6 separate regions of the Homo sapiens genome follow, and regions 1, 3, 4, 5 and 6 are each linked to region 2. The links are contacts of gene promoters, found by promoter capture Hi-C in blood cells and fetal thymus (Javierre and others, 2016). All regions are on one chromosome and are shown on one strand. Each heading gives the region's core, a stretch centred on a gene start or on the middle of the fragment in contact. The rest is flanking DNA. Distances are from core to core; before and after follow the strand shown.

Region 1 (2,959 bases), core at 6-2,505, 410 kb before region 2:
CGCCTGTAATCCCAGCACTTTGGGAGGCTGACGTGGGCGGATCATGAGGTCAGGAATTCGAGACTAGTCTAGCCAACATGGTGAAACCCCGTCTCTACTAAAAATACAAAAAGTAGCTGGGCGTGGTGGTGGGCGCCTGTAATCCCAGCTACTCAGGAGGCTGAGGCAGGAGAATCGCTTGAAACCGGAAGGTGGAGGTTGCAGTGAGCTGAGATCGTGCCATTGCACTCCAGCCTGGGCAACAAGAGTGAAACTTCATCTCAAAAAAAGAAGAAAAAAAATAATAACCAATGCTTCCAGAGTGAGTGAGGGATACAGACATAAACTGTGATCCCCGCCCTGCAGAACTTTACCATGGAGGTGAAGGCAGAAGATATGTACAAATAATTCCCAGAGTAAGTATACAATTAGTCACCTGAGTTCTAACCCTTGTTCTCCTCTAACTAGCTCTGGGAAAGTGTGTCCTTTAATTTTCTTGGCCTTGCTTTTCCCATACATGAGTCAGGGAACGAGAGTGGGTTGCTCAGGGACCACCCCCACACATTTGTACGGGTGGTTCTCAGATGGCACTGGCCTACACGTTCCAGGTCTGTTAAGAATTCAATTAGATTTTTTTTTTTCTAGAAAGTGAAGTTGTTTTAAGCTTGCCTTAGGTACTTCTTGGAGCTCTCATCTTTCTTTCTCCTTTACAGAGAAAATATTTTCATAGTTCTGAAGAAAAGCACTTTCATAAACAGGCCGCTGTCCTTTGTAAAGGGAACAGTCAGGAAAAGTAGAAATGGAAATAATAGCCTCTCCACCCCAAATTTGCGACAGTATCTTTGCATCTCTATGCTTTTTTCACCTTTAGATCATAAAGGCAAAAAATTCTTTTTATCTCCTCAGAACTCCTTATTCTCTTAACTGTGCCTTATTTTTGTGAAGAAATGAATGTCTTCTGTTAGCTTCCAGAGTCCTGTTTGGTGCTGAAGTTTTAAGTGCCCTTAGGAATTGGTAACATATAATGCTCCTAGATTCCAAAATCTGAGTCTTCAGCTTTCCTTCTTCAGGCCTCTTCTTTAAGCCTCTTATAAAAACCCTGTCTCTCTTAAAACCCCACAGGAAATTGCCTGACACCCTTGGGAGTTTCAGAGAGAGAGTACACGTTTTTGTATTTTGAGACGGTTCCCTCTGTCTCCCAGGCTGGAGTGCAGTGGCACAATCTCGGCTCACTGCAACCTCTGCCTCCCGGGTTCAAGCAATTCTCCTGCCTCAGCCTCCTGAGTAGTTGGGCCTACAGGCATGTGCCACCATGCCCAGCTAATTTTTTTTTTTGTATATTTAGTAGAGACGGGGTTTCACCATGTTGGTCAGGCTGGTCTTGAACTCCTGACCTCGAATGACCTGCCTGCCTCGGCCTCCCAAAGTGCTAGGATTACAGGTGTGAGCCACTGTGCCTGGCCTTGTTTTTCTTTTTGTTTCAGATTTTCTCCTCAAAATTCAACTTCAGAGAGTACATGTTTTGACCAAGCATGTCTCTTGTGGAATATCCCTTCCAGCTCTTCATCTCCCTCATCCCAGCAGAGCAGTGGGTGTTGTTCACTGGACCTGGGCCATGCACTGTGTGCACTGCTGATCGGAACAAGGCAAGGCTTCCTTCCCGGGCTCTGGGAAGCCCCCTGGCAGGGCAGTCCAAGCATCACAAAGCCGCCCCAGTTTCTTAGCCAGCCTCTCCTGAAGTCTCTGTGGATGGAGGCTGGAGAGGGCACAGGTGGGGCGGCTCTTTGCCCCACAATCTCGTCGCTGTGTCTGTGAGTGCTCTAGGGTTGCTGGCCAGGAGGAGAAAGACAGAGGAAGGGTGGAGGCTCAGCTGACAGCAACCGTTCCACAAAGCTTCTTCTGGCAGCGCTGACCCACATGAGTCCCCTCTGTCTCCATCTCCAAACAGGCATTATTGTATTACACACTCGGGCACGGCACCATACTCTCTCTTGACCTGCTCTGTAAATTGAGCATAAGCCTCTTCTGCTAAGGGCAAAGGTATCTGCCATTATAAAAAGGACCTCTAGGAGGCCCCCCAAAGGTTGTGGGTTGAACTGTATCCTTTGAAATGTACCCCAGAGTGGAAGTCCTCACCCTTTGTATCTGTGAATGTGATCTGATTTGGAAATAAGATCTTGGCAGATAGAATAATGATGTCAGTTAAGATGAGGTCACTCTGAACTAGGGTGGGCCCTTCATCCAACCTGAGTGGTGTCCTTATAAAAAGAGGAGAAGAGACACAGAGAGAGACACACATACAGAGGAGGAAAAGCCGTGCTGAGACACAGACACAGAGAGGAAAGACAGCCATGTGGTAATGGAGGCAGAGACTGGAATTCAGTTTCTGTAAGCCAAGGAATGCCAGTGATGGCCGGCAACCGCCAGCAGCTGGGAGAATGACTGTGGCCCTACTAATACCTTGATTTTGGACTTCTAGCCTCCAGAACTGTGAGAATAGATTTCTGTTGTCTTTAGTCACCTAGTTTATTATAATTTGTTATGGCAGCATGAATATGTGTGCTTGTAGCCCAGGAAGCTAATATACCCCTTCCTCCATGAAAGCAGAAAAAACACAGATACAAATTATTAAGCATTTACCACACACTAGGCAATGTTTGATATATACTATACCATTTGATTGTCGCAGAAATCAATAGATGTGGGTGCATGTATTCTTTTAATAACTGAGGGTTCCAGAGAAGCTTAGCAATTGACCCAACATCACACAGCTGGTACATAGATGGTGCCACTGGAAATTGAATGTTGTCTCAATAGCTCCCAAGCTTTGTCTCTGAGAGAATGAATCTCTTGTACTGGTGATGGGGCAGGAGAAGATCACATGAATAGGTCTTCTCTGCCCAGAACATCTTCTTTTTCTCAACACAGGAGGCCCACTTGTCAGGTTAGGTCAACACCTAAATGACTGAAAGAGACTCAA
Region 2 (2,700 bases), core at 200-2,699:
GCTCTTCAGGGCTAAAAGTCCTTTGGAATCAAGATTGTTTCTTGTTTCTTTTTTTTTCTTTTTTCCTTTTTCTCTTTCTTTTCTTTTCTTTCTTTCTTTCTTTCTTTCTTTCTTTCTTTCTTTCTTTCTTTTTCGTTTTTCTCTTTCTTTCTTTTTCTGTTTCTTATCTCCTCAGCTTGAAGGTTGCATCCTCTTTATCTCCTTAAGTAAAGCTGGGAGTTCTGTAGTACTCCAGGAGTGAGGACAATTATGCTTAAGAAACTTTGGTTTCAGTTTAGTCCCAGACCAAGAGGAAAACATTTCAAAATTTTAAAGTAAATCCTAAAAGTGTAATTTACACCAGAGCGATTGACCTGGCATTTATGTAGACTGAAGCTTGAGAAGTAATTCAAGTGGTTTCCACTCATTCCCTTGGAAGAGTCCTTAGAATGTACTTCCATTGGTCTGAAAAACGCCTGAAAAAGAGTCCTGATGCTAACAGTAATGGAAATAGGAGGGCTGGTGGTTCACGATCAGCCCAGTGGTATCCTCTATTCTATTTGCATCTAGGTAAAGAGACTGTGGCCTGTATGTGATCAAACAATTTGTTGAAGCGCTTTGGGCTTAGGGCATTTAATTTCTGTGAAGTAGGACCATCAGTTGTTTGCTCTGTTTTTGTGTCACCTCTCAGAATACATTAAAGTAGGGGCAACCCTTGAGCCCAGACTTCTGCCATGTGAAGACCCTTTGAAAATCCTGACAAACACAGGTACTGCGTAAGTGGTCAGCTAATTAAAGAGGGGAGGTGGAGCTGTCCTTTGTGTATCCAATAAGTACCCATTATCTCATTTGAGCATGAAAAGAGGCCACTGTTATTACTTTCAAGAAGGAAAGTAAGCAGGATAGCTCATATTTTTAGAACAATTCCTCACCAAATGGAATAATTCCGGTGAAAAGTGGGAGTGAGGAAGAAAGAAAAAAAAAACTTCTAATCATAATGTTTGGGAATAAGAAAGGAAGAAGAAACTCACGTCAAAGCCGACTTTCTCCTGCAGCTGTAAAATAAACTCTTAAGACCCTTCCTGCTGAAACTCTGGAGAGGAAAACTGGAGTGGCGGGTGGGCTTTGCCTGCAGCTCAACTCTCCCTCGCGGCGCGGGCGCGGCTGGGTTCAGCACCTCGGAAAGCGCCCCTCGCGGCGCCCCGGGATTACGCATGCTCCTTGGGGCCCGCCGCCTTGGCCGTGCAAGTGCCACCGTAACTGGTGAGAGCCGCTGGCAACCCACCCGGAGTTGACAACCGCGGAGAGACGCAGACACCCACTGACCTCCAGGAAGCTGAGCGTGGTGGATGGAACTCTACGATCTCTTTCTCTCCAAGGACGGAAACCTCATCCAAGCAGTCCCAGAGGAAACGGATAAAGGTATTTGAAAGGGAGCGAGCGGCCCCAAATCGCACAATTGAGCGGCTGGGGGAGTTATGCGCCAGTGCCCCAGTGACCGCGGGACACGGAGAGGGGAAGTCTGCGTTGTACATAAGGACCTAGGGACTCCGAGCTTGGCCTGAGAACCCTTGGACGCCGAGTGCTTGCCTTACGGGCTGCACTCCTCAACTCTGCTCCAAAGCAGCCGCTGAGCTCAACTCCTGCGTCCAGGGCGTTCGCTGCGCGCCAGGACGCGCTTAGTACCCAGTTCCTGGGCTCTCTCTTCAGTAGCTGCTTTGAAAGCTCCCACGCACGTCCCGCAGGCTAGCCTGGCAACAAAACTGGGGTAAACCGTGTTATCTTAGGTCTTGTCCCCCAGAACATGACCTAGAGGTACCTGCGCATGCAGATGGCCGATGCAGCCACGATAGCCACCATGAATAAGGCAGCAGGCGGGGACAAGCTAGCAGAACTCTTCAGTCTGGTCCCGGACCTTCTGGAGGCGGCCAACACGAGTGGTAACGCGTCGCTGCAGCTTCCGGACTTGTGGTGGGAGCTGGGGCTGGAGTTGCCGGACGGCGCGCCGCCAGGACATCCCCCGGGCAGCGGCGGGGCAGAGAGCGCGGACACAGAGGCCCGGGTGCGGATTCTCATCAGCGTGGTGTACTGGGTGGTGTGCGCCCTGGGGTTGGCGGGCAACCTGCTGGTTCTCTACCTGATGAAGAGCATGCAGGGCTGGCGCAAGTCCTCTATCAACCTCTTCGTCACCAACCTGGCGCTGACGGACTTTCAGTTTGTGCTCACCCTGCCCTTCTGGGCGGTGGAGAACGCTCTTGACTTCAAATGGCCCTTCGGCAAGGCCATGTGTAAGATCGTGTCCATGGTGACGTCCATGAACATGTACGCCAGCGTGTTCTTCCTCACTGCCATGAGTGTGACGCGCTACCATTCGGTGGCCTCGGCTCTGAAGAGCCACCGGACCCGAGGACACGGCCGGGGCGACTGCTGCGGCCGGAGCCTGGGGGACAGCTGCTGCTTCTCGGCCAAGGCGCTGTGTGTGTGGATCTGGGCTTTGGCCGCGCTGGCCTCGCTGCCCAGTGCCATTTTCTCCACCACGGTCAAGGTGATGGGCGAGGAGCTGTGCCTGGTGCGTTTCCCGGACAAGTTGCTGGGCCGCGACAGGCAGTTCTGGCTGGGCCTCTACCACTCGCAGAAGGTGCTGCTGGGCTTCGTGCTGCCGCTGGGCATCATTATCTTGTGCTACCTGCTGCTGGTGCGCTTCATCGCCGACCGCCGCGC
Region 3 (2,908 bases), core at 402-2,901, 440 kb before region 2:
AGGGGAGGGGGAACTGAGGATTATGGGTAATTCTGGGAGAAGGAATAAAGGATTACCAGGGAGAGTGAATGGATGAGGAAACAGAGATTAACTTGTAAATGTTTCTGTTTGGGAATTCAGTGAGCCTGAAAGAAGATACTATCTTGTGAAAGGGTTCATTCAGGGTGGTTACATTCATAAGGTCTTAATTGATGCTTTTTTTTTCTCTCTCTTTCTCTCTCTCTCTCTTTTTTTTTCCTTTTTACTCTGCATCTTCATGATTTTTTCCCCCTAGTGGATAATGAGGTAACAGGGAGAGAAAAGAAAAATAATTGTGCTCCTTAGCAGATCTGTGGGGTCTTTATGTACATAGGGGAAAAGACTTTTCTAGCTCTCTGTTGATCTTTAAGGGCCTTTAATTTAAAATATTCATCATACCCAGGAGAAATATTTTCAGGGGAGATATTTGGTTTCTTTCACCTTTGACAAGGCCAGACAAAGATCCTCTAAATTCCTATTCTCTGCCTCGTAAATGACTAGCTGAACTGCTTGTGACCATGGAATCTAAATCTGAACAAAGTTCTTGTTAATCAAACTTTGGTTAAGATTATCTCCTTCTCCTAGATCCCAGAATTTGACCCATCCTTAGCCTGAGCTAGCATACAACTCCTTCTTAACAGCACCTTCTGAAAATAGGCTGGCTCCAGGGTCAAGCAATCTCTGATCTACTATCAGATTAGCCACCTCACTCTTTCATTCCTCTGTCCCACCCCAGATTCTTTCTAGCCAAGGGTCTGACTCTGTCACTCAGACTGGAGTTCAGTGGTACAATCATACCTTACTGCAGCCTTGACCTCCCAGGCTCAAGCAATCCTTCCCAACTCAGCCCCCCAATCAGCTCAGTTAGCTGGGACTACAGCACGCGCCATCACACCCAGCTAATTATTATTATTTTTTTTGTATAGATAGGATCTCACTATATTGCCCAGGTTGGTCTTGAACTCCTCAAGCAATCTTCCTATCTTGGCCTCCCAAAGTGCTGGGATTACAGGCATGAGCCACCATGCCTGACCTACCATTTTGCCTAACTCTTGAATTTGCAGATCTTGTCGAAGACTTCTCCCTGTTGCAGTAGTCTCCCTCCTCCTATTGCAAAATCCCTTCTTTCCTCTCAGCTCTACTTCTTGAAGTAATCTTTAAAAATAAAATTTCTCCTTATCTAAGTGCAGATTTAGTTTTTATTTGACAATGCCTGGCTAGTATCAGTAGATATTATTGTTAGTATTTCCTTACATCCCCTTTCTTCGTCCTGGCTAAAACTTGTTCAGTATAGACAGGAAGCGATGGGAGAATTCATCTTGCCTTCTATGCAATCACCCAATGGGTTCTTCTGCTCTCTGCATAGACAAAAAACGATACACTGAGACTGTGGTATTGAAGTAGAGAAAGAGCTTAATTAATGCAGAGCTAGCCAAGCAGAAGTACTAGAATTATTACTCAAATTAGTCTCCCTGAGAACTAGAGATTTTATGGATAATTTGGTGATCAAGGGTCTAGGAAATGGGTGCTGCTGATTGGTTGGAGATAAAATCATAAGGGTATGGAAAACAGTTCTTGCACATTGAGTCCACCTCTAGGCAGGGGCCACAATTCTGGTTGAGTCATGAGTCCTGGGTCCAGGTAGAGTCAATCAGCTGACAGAATGCAAAAGTCTGAAAAACATCTCAAAAGACCAATCTTAAGTTCTACAATAGTGATATTATCTATAGGAGCAACTGGGGAATTCACAAATCTTGTGACCTCTGACCACATGACTCTTGAACTGTAAGGGATTATAGGAACTATGCTTACATTTTAGCAGAATTCAGGCCCCTTCCATTGTCCTAATCTTGTGACCTTTCATTTGTTTTACAAAGGCAGCTTTGGTCCTTGAGCAAGGAGGGAGGTTAGTTTAAGGGAGGGACTATAATTATCCTTGCTTCAAAGTTAAACTATAAACTGAATTCTTCCCATGGTTAGCTTGGCCTATGCCCAGAAATGAGTGAGATCAGCCAGCATGTGAAGCTGGAAGCAAGATGGAGTTTGCCATGCTAGATTTCTCTTACTGTCATAACCTTTACAAAGGTGGTTTCACTTGTACCTAATGAGTGTACATTAATTAGTCTTGGTCCCAAAAAGAAAGAGATGGCATAATTAGACCCTGCATGATTTGAGGGGGATTTATTTACAAGAAGGACTAGTTAAAAAGGTATGGCTGGTGCAAGAGAACCACAAGTGATAGTAGCAACAGAATTTTCACCATCTCTAGGTTTAAGGGGACAGAAGAAGAAAGATACTACCAGTATATGGAAGGATAGAGTCATATTGAACAGGCCAGTTGGAGAGCAGCATTGACCTTCAAACAATGAAATAACCCATCCAACCTGGACCAGTGGAGCAACTGTTGTGAAAGCTGACTAAAGCCATCTTTATCAGGTTAACAAGAATTCTGTACAGAAATATAGTTATGATTAAGCATCAATTGGGCTGCACTTTGGCCCATTTCTTTGTAACCAAAAGTCACATAGCATTAGATACTGACCATTTGCATTCCCATTGTTCCTATAGATAGGATTTCTGATGTTAGAATCATAAAACTTTTGTGTAAGGATTATTTAAGATGTTTTTCAAATCCTGAATTACAGCAAAACAGCTGACACCAACCAGAGAAATGAAATCAGCGTGAGAATACAGTTTCTCCACCTCTCTGTCCTGTGACTCTATACTGCACTCTTCAACCAGTCGGTGATCTCCATATTTTGTCCCACTCTAAAACCTTTAAAAACCGTAACCCCAAGCCAGGCACAGTGGCTCATACCTGTAATCCCAGCACTTTGGGGGGCTGAGGTGGGTGGATCATTTGGGATCAGGAGTTCGAGACAAGCCTGGC
Region 4 (2,776 bases), core at 57-2,556, 480 kb before region 2:
CTTTTGAATTACTTTGGCTATGGATAGAAACAGTAGTTTATAGATTTAGAAATTTAGGATTTTATATATTGGGTTTACTTGTAGTAAATATTATCATCTGTCTCTTTCAGACAACCACATTAATTGGCAACTTGTATGCCAAGACTCAGACCATGCCATTTTTCTTTAAATTTTCAGGTGTATTGGCACTCTAGTGCTCACATAATGGGTGAAGCCATGGAAAGAGTCTATGGTGGATGTTTATGCTACGGTCCGCCAATAGAAAATGGATTCTATTATGACATGTACCTCGAAGAAGGGTAAGCCATCAACTAGATAAAGAAAACTGAAGTCAATGACTATGGATCCATAAGTTATTCTTAAGAGTTCTCAGTAAGGGAGGAATGATATAGATCTCACTGCTTCTTCATCAGGTATGCCCATTATCAGTACTTGAAGTGTTGCAATTTACCTGAAGTAATAGAGGATTTGATGAGACCTCTGTTCTAGATTGATGGAGGTAGAGTCCTAAGGTATTTTGGGAAATTCAGGGAGACTGGTCCTCCCCTCTCCTTTAAAACCTGGTGATAGAGTTGCGGGAAGGGGTCACTAGTGAGAAAGGTCTCCATGGATGACCAAGGTAGAAGCTACTGAAAATATAAAATGTAAAAATTACTTATGAAAAATGTTTTGTTTAGAATTCTAAGATACGATGCAATAGTCTAATTTTTTAATATTAAAACCCTTGAAGTATTCCAAATACTATTTCCAAATGAACATTTTTCGAAGCCATGGTGTGATTCGAATGGAATGAAAAGATTATACTTTCTTCTCCTTCAGGGGTGTGTCTAGCAATGATTTCTCTTCTCTGGAGGCTTTGTGTAAGAAAATCATTAAAGAAAAACAAGCTTTTGAAAGACTGGAAGTTAAGAAAGAAACTTTACTGGCAATGTTTAAGGTAAATTGAACCATAGTGCGTGGCCCCCACTGTTAATATCATTTATTCATGTTAGTTGAAGTGACACCACTGGCGTTCCGTGTACTAAGCTGAAGTCTAATTGGTTCTTTAGCAAAAATTAAGTGTTTTTATTATTTTTTTAATTTCATTTTTTTCCTAGCAAACCATTCCTTCAACATGTTTTTAAAACATGAAGTATCAACATTTATATTCATACAGTGCTACGTTTTAGCTATAGTACTTAGAAGTAAAAATTAAAGGACAGTTTTTTAAAATAATAATTTTTCCTGTTTTCAGTACAACAAGTTCAAATGCCGGATATTGAATGAAAAGGTGAATACTCCAACTACCACAGTCTATAGGTAAGAATATTAGATGTCATTAAATGTATCTGGTATGTATGTCATTTTGTCTTTGTTAAAATTCCTTTCATTTTATCTTTAGATGTGGCCCTTTGATAGATCTCTGCCGGGGTCCTCATGTTAGACACACGGGCAAAATTAAGGCTTTAAAAATACACAAAGTAAGTAATGTAACTTTAAAGACTGTGAATGTATCTGTCTAGAATAGATATATGTTTAAACTTTCACTGATTTCTCTTTACCATTTTCTGTTGCACATGAAAGGATGGTATTTTCTCATGCTCTCTATTAACTGGGAGCTGTATGCCATCAGGATTTTATAATTGAAATCCCTCAAGGGGTGACTGACTTGCTGTCATTGCCAGAGCAATCACAGGGGATGGAGATTTTACAAAATCATACAGCATGGGCCATCCTGGCTCTATAAAAGCTTTGAGACTCACTGGGAGTATGTGCTTTTGCCCTTTATATGTCTAAATTAATAATTTCCCAAGTTGTTGTTTTTAACAGAACCCAGTTTTATACTAGTTCATAAACATTTTATGGAGGTTTTTAAAATGCACTTTAAATCAAGAGAATAATTGAGTCATTTCAAGATTTTTTTTTTATTGGCTCATTTCTATTTTTGCTCATTTTGTGAGAAATGCCTTTGCAGGCAAAGTAATGTTTGTGGAATTGTGGTTGAGTATTGAGGGGTGGGCAGTTTTGGGGGTATTGGGGTGTAGAATGGGTCTCACTCTGTTGCCCCAAAAAGACAGAGTGGAGGACCACTTGAGCCTGGGAAATGAGGTTGCAGTGAATGGAGATCGTGCCACTGCACTCCAGGCTCAAGCAGTCCTCCTGCCTTAGCCTCCTGAGTAGCTGCGACCATAAGCGCACACCACCATGCCTGGGTAATTTTCTTTTTTTTAAATAAAGAATGGGGTCTCCCTGTGTTTCCCAGGCTGGTCTCGAACTCCCAGGCTCAAGCAATCCTCTTGCCTCGGCTTCACAGAGTGCTGGGATTACAGGCATGAGCCACTGCACCCACCTGCAGATTGAGGGAGGGGCATTTTTGAGGATAGAAAACAGCCAACTTTGTGCTGCAGAATGAGTAACTACTCTAACAAGGCCTCAAAGCAATTGGGAGTTAAAATAAGTGAGATGTTTACAAATTTGAATGTTGTTTCATGGTTAATCCTTGTTTTCAGAATTCCTCCACGTACTGGGAAGGCAAAGCAGATATGGAGACTCTCCAGAGAATTTATGGCATTTCATTCCCAGATCCTAAAATGTTGAAAGAGTGGGAGAAGTTCCAAGAGGAAGCTAAAAACCGAGATCATAGGAAAATTGGCAGGGTATGTTCAAGAACAATGATGTGTCTTGACTGAGTTTTCTTCAACTTCATTTGAAGTTTGAAATTCAGCTGCATGAAGTACTAGGAATTTTGTTTTGAAGAGATGTTGTGGCTTTTTAGTAACTGGTGCTATGTCCTGTA
Region 5 (2,700 bases), core at 162-2,661, 430 kb before region 2:
TGGATTTTGTTTGGAATCTTGTGGATACTGTTCTATGTTTTGATTATAAGGACCCTCCTTCTCTCTTCTTCTACATTATTTGTAATGCATAACAATTTAGTAGATTATACTTTTGTAAACAGAACTGAAACAATTATATTTTTTCCTTGGCTTGATTCTTCCAGAATTTGCAAATTCTTATATTTTTATTTCATGACAACATAATTTTTCTGCATAGATTCAATGAGTCTGACCCCTTTGTTAACAGGAAATAATTAGAAACATTGGTTATATAAACCAAAGCTTTGACTGAAGTGTCATATTTGAGAATGATGATCATAGAAACATAGAATCAACTGTTAGTAGCTAAGGCTGATTTTATGTAGCTAATGCCTACAAAACTCTCTTGGGAAAACCCAGCCTGGTACTTGGCTTACAGAGTTCCCAGCCTTATAGGTGAGTAAGGAAGGTCACATCCTGGCAGGCCCAGGAACTTTACAATATTTTGGAAACCTTGAGAAGACAGGAGTTCATCCAAATCTAAAGCTACTGCAGGTAAAGTCTGGTAGTGAGTTCTTGGCATGGCTTCCTAGCCTTGACGTGCTTTTAGAAGTCTAATCTCAGATTCCTTATGAAAAACTTCAGTAAAGCAAACTAAAAAAGGTCTATTATGGTATAAATTACCTTTCTTGCTGTATTTATGTAAACGATCAGGCCAAATCTAATGATATCGGCCCTATTTTATAATCAAGAACATTTTTTCTTTGGGATTATCTTTGATCATAAAAGGGTAACTGTTGAGAAAAATTTTGTTTTTCATAGAAAATTATAGCACACTATTGTGGATTATCAGATTCTGATCATATTCATAGTTTTTGAGCTATATAACATCTCTTTGTTAATTGTAGGTAACTAATGAATATGAAAAAAATCTCCAAAATATGTTAACATGTTACTTACCTGTAAATTGAACTGAATCCTGTCATCTTCCATTCATTGCCAACTGTTACCAAATTTCCAATTCTTCAATTTTTTTTAAAACTATCTAGCCACAACCCTCTACTTCCTGATGTGGCATCACTGAGAATTAAATCCTAACTGCTCAGATCCTTATTGGAACCCTAGGTTGCTTTGTAGCTGGCCTTCCCACCCCTCTCCCGCCAAGGATCTGAAAAAGTATTGAGAGTTAAAGCCCAATGATTTGATATGTACTTCAAAAGTCTCATCACTACAGCAGTCCATGCATAGGCTGGATCTCTCCCTGGACCAGCCACTATCTGGACCACTAAGGAAGTCTGGCAAAATACTCAGGTCATGCTCATGCATGCCCTTATTGATAGGACACTCTGAGTATGAAAAACATCACCAGAGTCTCTAAACCTTTGCTTCAAGGAACTCAATCAGCAGCCTCTGGTAACCACTATTCCACTCTATTTCTGTAAGTTTGAATGTTTTAGATTCCACATGCTGTGAGATCATACAGTATCTGTGCCTGGGCTTATTTCACTTAATGTAATGTCCTCTATGTTTATCCATGTTGTCACAAATGACGGAATTTCTTGCTTTTTTTGGTTGTTGTTCGTTTCTTTTTTTAAAGGCTGAATAGTACCGTATTCTATTGTATGTATGTATACCACCTTTTAAAAATCTATTCATTCAGGCTGGGCGCGGTGACTCAAGCCTGTAATCCCAGCACTTTGGGAGGCCGAGGTGGGCGGATCACGAGGTCAGGAGATCGAGACCATCCTGGCTAACACAGTGAAACCCCATCTCTACTAAAAATACAAAAAAAAAAATTAGCCAGGCGTGGTGGTGGGCGCCTATAGTCCCAGCTCCTCGGGAGGCTGAGGCAGGAGAATGGCGTGAACCTGGGAGGCGGAGCTTGCAGTGAGCCGAGATCGCGCCACTGCCCTCCAGCCCGGGCGACAGAGCGAGACTCCATCTCAAAAAATAAAAAAATAAAAATGTATTCATTCATTGATGAATGCTTAGGTTGCTTCCACATCTTGGCTAGTGTGAATAATGTTGCAATAAATGTAGAAGTGCAGATATCTATTCCACATACTAATTTTAGTTCCTTTGGGTATATACCTAGTAGTGGGATTGCTGGATCATATGGTAATTCTATTTTTAGGTTTTTGAAGAACCTCCATACTGTCTTCCAAAAAGGTTGTACTAATTTATAATACCACCAACAGTGTATAAAGATTGCCTGTTCTCAAAAACCTCACCAACACTTGTTATCTTACATCTTTTTGATGATAGCCTATCTAACATGTATAAGGTGATATAGCTCATTGTGGCTTTAATTTGCACTTCTCTTATTGTTACAGATGTTGAGCATTTAAAATATGTATCTATTGGCCATCTGTACATCTTCTTTTGATGTCTATTCAAGTCATTTGCCCATTTGTAAGTAAGATTGTTTTCTTGTTATTGAATAGTTTGATTTCCCTTGTGTATTTTGGATATTAATTAGCCCCTTATGAATGATTTACAAATATTTTCTCCCAGTCTGGGGCTTGTCTCTTCACGCTATTAATTGTTTCCTTTGTTGTACGGAAGCTTTTTAGTTTGACACAATCCCATTTGTCTATTTTTGCTTTTGTTGTCTGTGCTCTTGGGGTCATATCCAAAAAATCACTGCCCAGACCATGTCATGGAGCTTTTTCTATGTTTTCTTCCAGTAATTTTATAGTTTTAGGTCTTATGTTTACATCT
Region 6 (2,789 bases), core at 1-2,500, 390 kb before region 2:
CCTCCCACACCACAGAGCAGGAGGCACCCCAGCAGCTCCCGATGTCGGGAAACACATGCATAGGAGTGTTTCTGCCACTCGCTAGTCTTGAGCCCTTGGGCCTGTCACTGAAGTACGCTGAGCCTCAGGTGTCCCATCTCTAAACTGGGATCATAACTGCTACCTCCCAGCTGTGGGGAGATTATAGACCCTGGGGCTGGAGTGCCTGCTGGCACAGCATCTGCCCCAGTGGGTGGCCATTCCGTCTGGAAGTCAGTATTCACTAGAGGCAGAGTGGCCTGCCTATCCCTTCCCAGGAGTGGGCATGGCTGCTAAGCCTTGTCCGTCTTTCCTTCAGAATACTGGTTTTCTCTATGATGCTGGATGCAGAATAGGTTACTATGTCTCTCTCATGAAGGGCCTTGAGTAGGGAAATAAACTGAATTAACTACTCAGTGGTTTGACTCATGGGTGTGAGCAAACACTGTCCTTGCCTCCACCGTCACCATTCCTCCTGCAGCACCATCACGTGCAGCCATCACTGAGAGTCTTCTCAGCACTTGCCCCCGATAGCCACTACACAGGCCCTACTCACTCCCTTCCTCTCTGACCCCACCCCTTGTGCAGCAGCCCAGGTTCACCAGCAGGCTGCTGATTTCCCTTGGACCGTGATAAACACTGATGGGTCTGGGTCACCTACAACCAAGTTTGCACAGCCTGTTCCAGAGTGCTGCTTTTGTTGACTCTCTGACTTCTTGGATTTTGGCAGCTCCCCACTCCCTGACCTACAAAGATTTTATCTGATCATAACTTGTGCTTCTAGGACTTGCTCTCTGGTCTGTTTAGAACTCTAGTGCTTGCCATAGGCCTTCTGCTTATCTTCCCTCTGCAGCCTGGTGTCTCATGGCCAGACCTGGCCTGACCAGTCTTGTTACTGCCCACACTGAGGTGGGGACCTGAGGTAGGTGGGATGGAGGCTAACATCTGTGCTCGTCAGCCCAGGTTCTTCCCCAGGTTCTCCTCGGGTTAATACAATGTCCTTGGGGTTCCCATGTCCTGAATGTTCCTTCCTCTATTCTCTGCATTACCCATCACTGCTTTTTTTTAATGCCTCATTTTCAATGGCACCTCTTCTGAGAGGTTCTCATGGAATACCTGATCTAAAGGAGGTGATTTCTCTTGTAATTTGTCTCAGCTCCTCTTCTGTTTTCATCCCACAAAGCTAAACTGCAGAGCAACTTTGATTGATTTTGTCCATCCTTTCTACTATCCATCACTGCCATGAAAGCAGAGCCTGCCCTGCCCTGCCCTGTTCCGCATCACACCATGGATCCCTAGCACAGGGACAGACACAGTGTAGATGGCCATTATGAAGCTGTTGAATCAACATTGAATTATGAGAAAATGCCAGCTGGGAGGGCTCCCAGTGGGCTAAAGAGATCTCCAGTAATCATAGGATAAAGAATGTGCTTCTTTACCCTCTGAATCCTTCCATCAATGATCTCATTGGCAGTCTTGGCTGAGGAAACAAGTCACCAAGAAAGGGTATCCCTTGCTGTAAGGTATATTTTCATCTGGCTCTTCTCTCTGAAGGGTAAAAGACCATGCTGTCTTTCTGGCTATGGTGGAATAGCCATGATTCTAGGGCTGTGGTTGAGGAAAGAAAATTCCTCACGACTTTTCAGTAGACATAGACCCCAAATACTGCTCCCCTTTATTCCTCTGATTGGCAGATTTCACCAAGTCACCTGACTTCAAACATTGGTCTGTATTTTGGAAACACATGGGCCCATGTGATGAGGGGACAGATTGATGCTCTGGTACTTCCATAAATCAAGTGTGTTTAGATTATCAGAAATAAGCAATACTTGCCAACAGCTTCCCAAAAGTGCAAATTAAAAACTTTGTTTTCCTGCCACACAGTAAGCACACAAAGAAAAACAGTAACAGCAAACTTAAAATTTGCCATAGAACAAATGAGAAAGCATGCTAATAGCTTCCACTCAAAGCAACTATTTGTCTGACAAAATAAATTTCCAGGAAATAGCCCATAGTTAAAACAAGAGTACTTTTTATTAGGAAAAGGGGATTTAAAAGACATAAGCATAAAATGAGATTTTACTTTTTTATTTTCTATTTGTTGCTATAATCTGTTATTCCTAAATTTATTTTTCAAATTAGCATTACTCTTTTGTCAAGAGCATGTGCACATTCAGTGGGAAATAAAATTTATTAATATGCTGAAGTCAGTAATAAGGGAAGACACTCACTAAATCTATCATTATTCTATTCCATTTTCAAAAGAGCCTCTGATTCTGTTAGCAAGAGGGAAGTGACAGCATATTAAGTCACTCCAGTCCTAACGCTCTTTTGCTTTTGTGTGCTGAATGACAATTGTTATGTTATATTCATTTTCTTATTGCCTGAGAGGAAGGCCGTTTGTATTCCTGTTTTCCTAATGTAAAGCCTGCGAACCAGACTGACGACAAGAGGCAGGCTAATGAGAACAGAAAGACTGGTAAATGCCCTGTTGAAACCAAACAGGTCTGATAGTATCCAGTTACCACATCACTACATCAGTTTGTTTAATTCCTGTGATTTGCACAGCAAATTGAGTTAGAATGAAAAATATCCTTAGCTTACTGGGGCCACTGGCAGAGGTAAAATGAAATCAAAACCTTTTCTTTCTTGTGCTATTTTTGATTTATGAAATCCTAGTACACTTCCCAGGCTGAACTTCTACAGAGTATTCAGAGAAGTATAGCACAACTAACAAACACAGGATTGGGGGACTAACAGACCAACTCCAT

Evidence for each region. The method cuts DNA at HindIII sites, captures the fragments that hold promoters and counts their contacts. A CHiCAGO score of 5 or more calls a contact.
Region 1: a contact is called between a fragment that was not itself captured here and the fragment with the promoter of RXFP3 in region 2, in 2 of 17 cell types (endothelial precursors and total CD4 T cells). The highest score is 7.1, in endothelial precursors.
Region 3: a contact is called between a fragment that was not itself captured here and the fragment with the promoter of RXFP3 in region 2, in 12 of 17 cell types (endothelial precursors, total CD4 T cells, non-activated CD4 T cells and 9 more). The highest score is 12.1, in endothelial precursors.
Region 4: a contact is called between a fragment that was not itself captured here and the fragment with the promoter of RXFP3 in region 2, in 10 of 17 cell types (fetal thymus, naive CD8 T cells, total CD8 T cells and 7 more). The highest score is 8.7, in fetal thymus.
Region 5: a fragment that was not itself captured here is called in contact with the fragment with the promoter of RXFP3 in region 2 in 3 of 17 cell types (endothelial precursors, naive CD4 T cells and activated CD4 T cells); the score reaches 8.5 in endothelial precursors.
Region 6: a contact is called between a fragment that was not itself captured here and the fragment with the promoter of RXFP3 in region 2, in 1 of 17 cell types (endothelial precursors). The highest score is 5.5, in endothelial precursors.

What each region holds. Positions count from the first base shown.
Region 1 is chr5:33,528,784-33,531,742 of GRCh38, forward strand. All of the region lies in intron 23 of ADAMTS12 (ADAM metallopeptidase with thrombospondin type 1 motif 12), which reads right to left. Among named protein-coding and RNA genes, the nearest start is that of TARS1, 89 kb to the left of the region's middle. The HindIII fragment of the contact is 1,229 bases long and covers 642-1,870 here.
Region 2 is chr5:33,934,937-33,937,636 of GRCh38, forward strand. RXFP3 (relaxin family peptide receptor 3) reads left to right here and starts at 1,450. Exons shown (of 1, transcript NM_016568.3): 1 at 1,450-2,700. The coding sequence starts at 1,805. The HindIII fragment of the contact is 5,701 bases long and covers 374-2,700 here.
Region 3 is chr5:33,490,212-33,493,119 of GRCh38, forward strand. No RefSeq gene overlaps it. Among named protein-coding and RNA genes, the nearest start is that of TARS1, 51 kb to the left of the region's middle. The HindIII fragment of the contact is 3,346 bases long and covers 1-2,908 here.
Region 4 is chr5:33,454,768-33,457,543 of GRCh38, forward strand. It overlaps TARS1 (threonyl-tRNA synthetase 1), which reads left to right. Exons shown (of 19, transcript NM_152295.5): 5 at 178-299; 6 at 820-937; 7 at 1,235-1,299; 8 at 1,382-1,460; 9 at 2,490-2,636. Among named protein-coding and RNA genes, the nearest start is that of TARS1, 15 kb to the left of the region's middle. The HindIII fragment of the contact is 842 bases long and covers 886-1,727 here.
Region 5 is chr5:33,507,817-33,510,516 of GRCh38, forward strand. No RefSeq gene overlaps it. Among named protein-coding and RNA genes, the nearest start is that of TARS1, 68 kb to the left of the region's middle. The HindIII fragment of the contact is 2,262 bases long and covers 281-2,542 here.
Region 6 is chr5:33,549,519-33,552,307 of GRCh38, forward strand. The region is part of intron 20 of ADAMTS12 (ADAM metallopeptidase with thrombospondin type 1 motif 12); the gene reads right to left. Among named protein-coding and RNA genes, the nearest start is that of TARS1, 110 kb to the left of the region's middle. The HindIII fragment of the contact is 6,732 bases long and covers 1-2,789 here.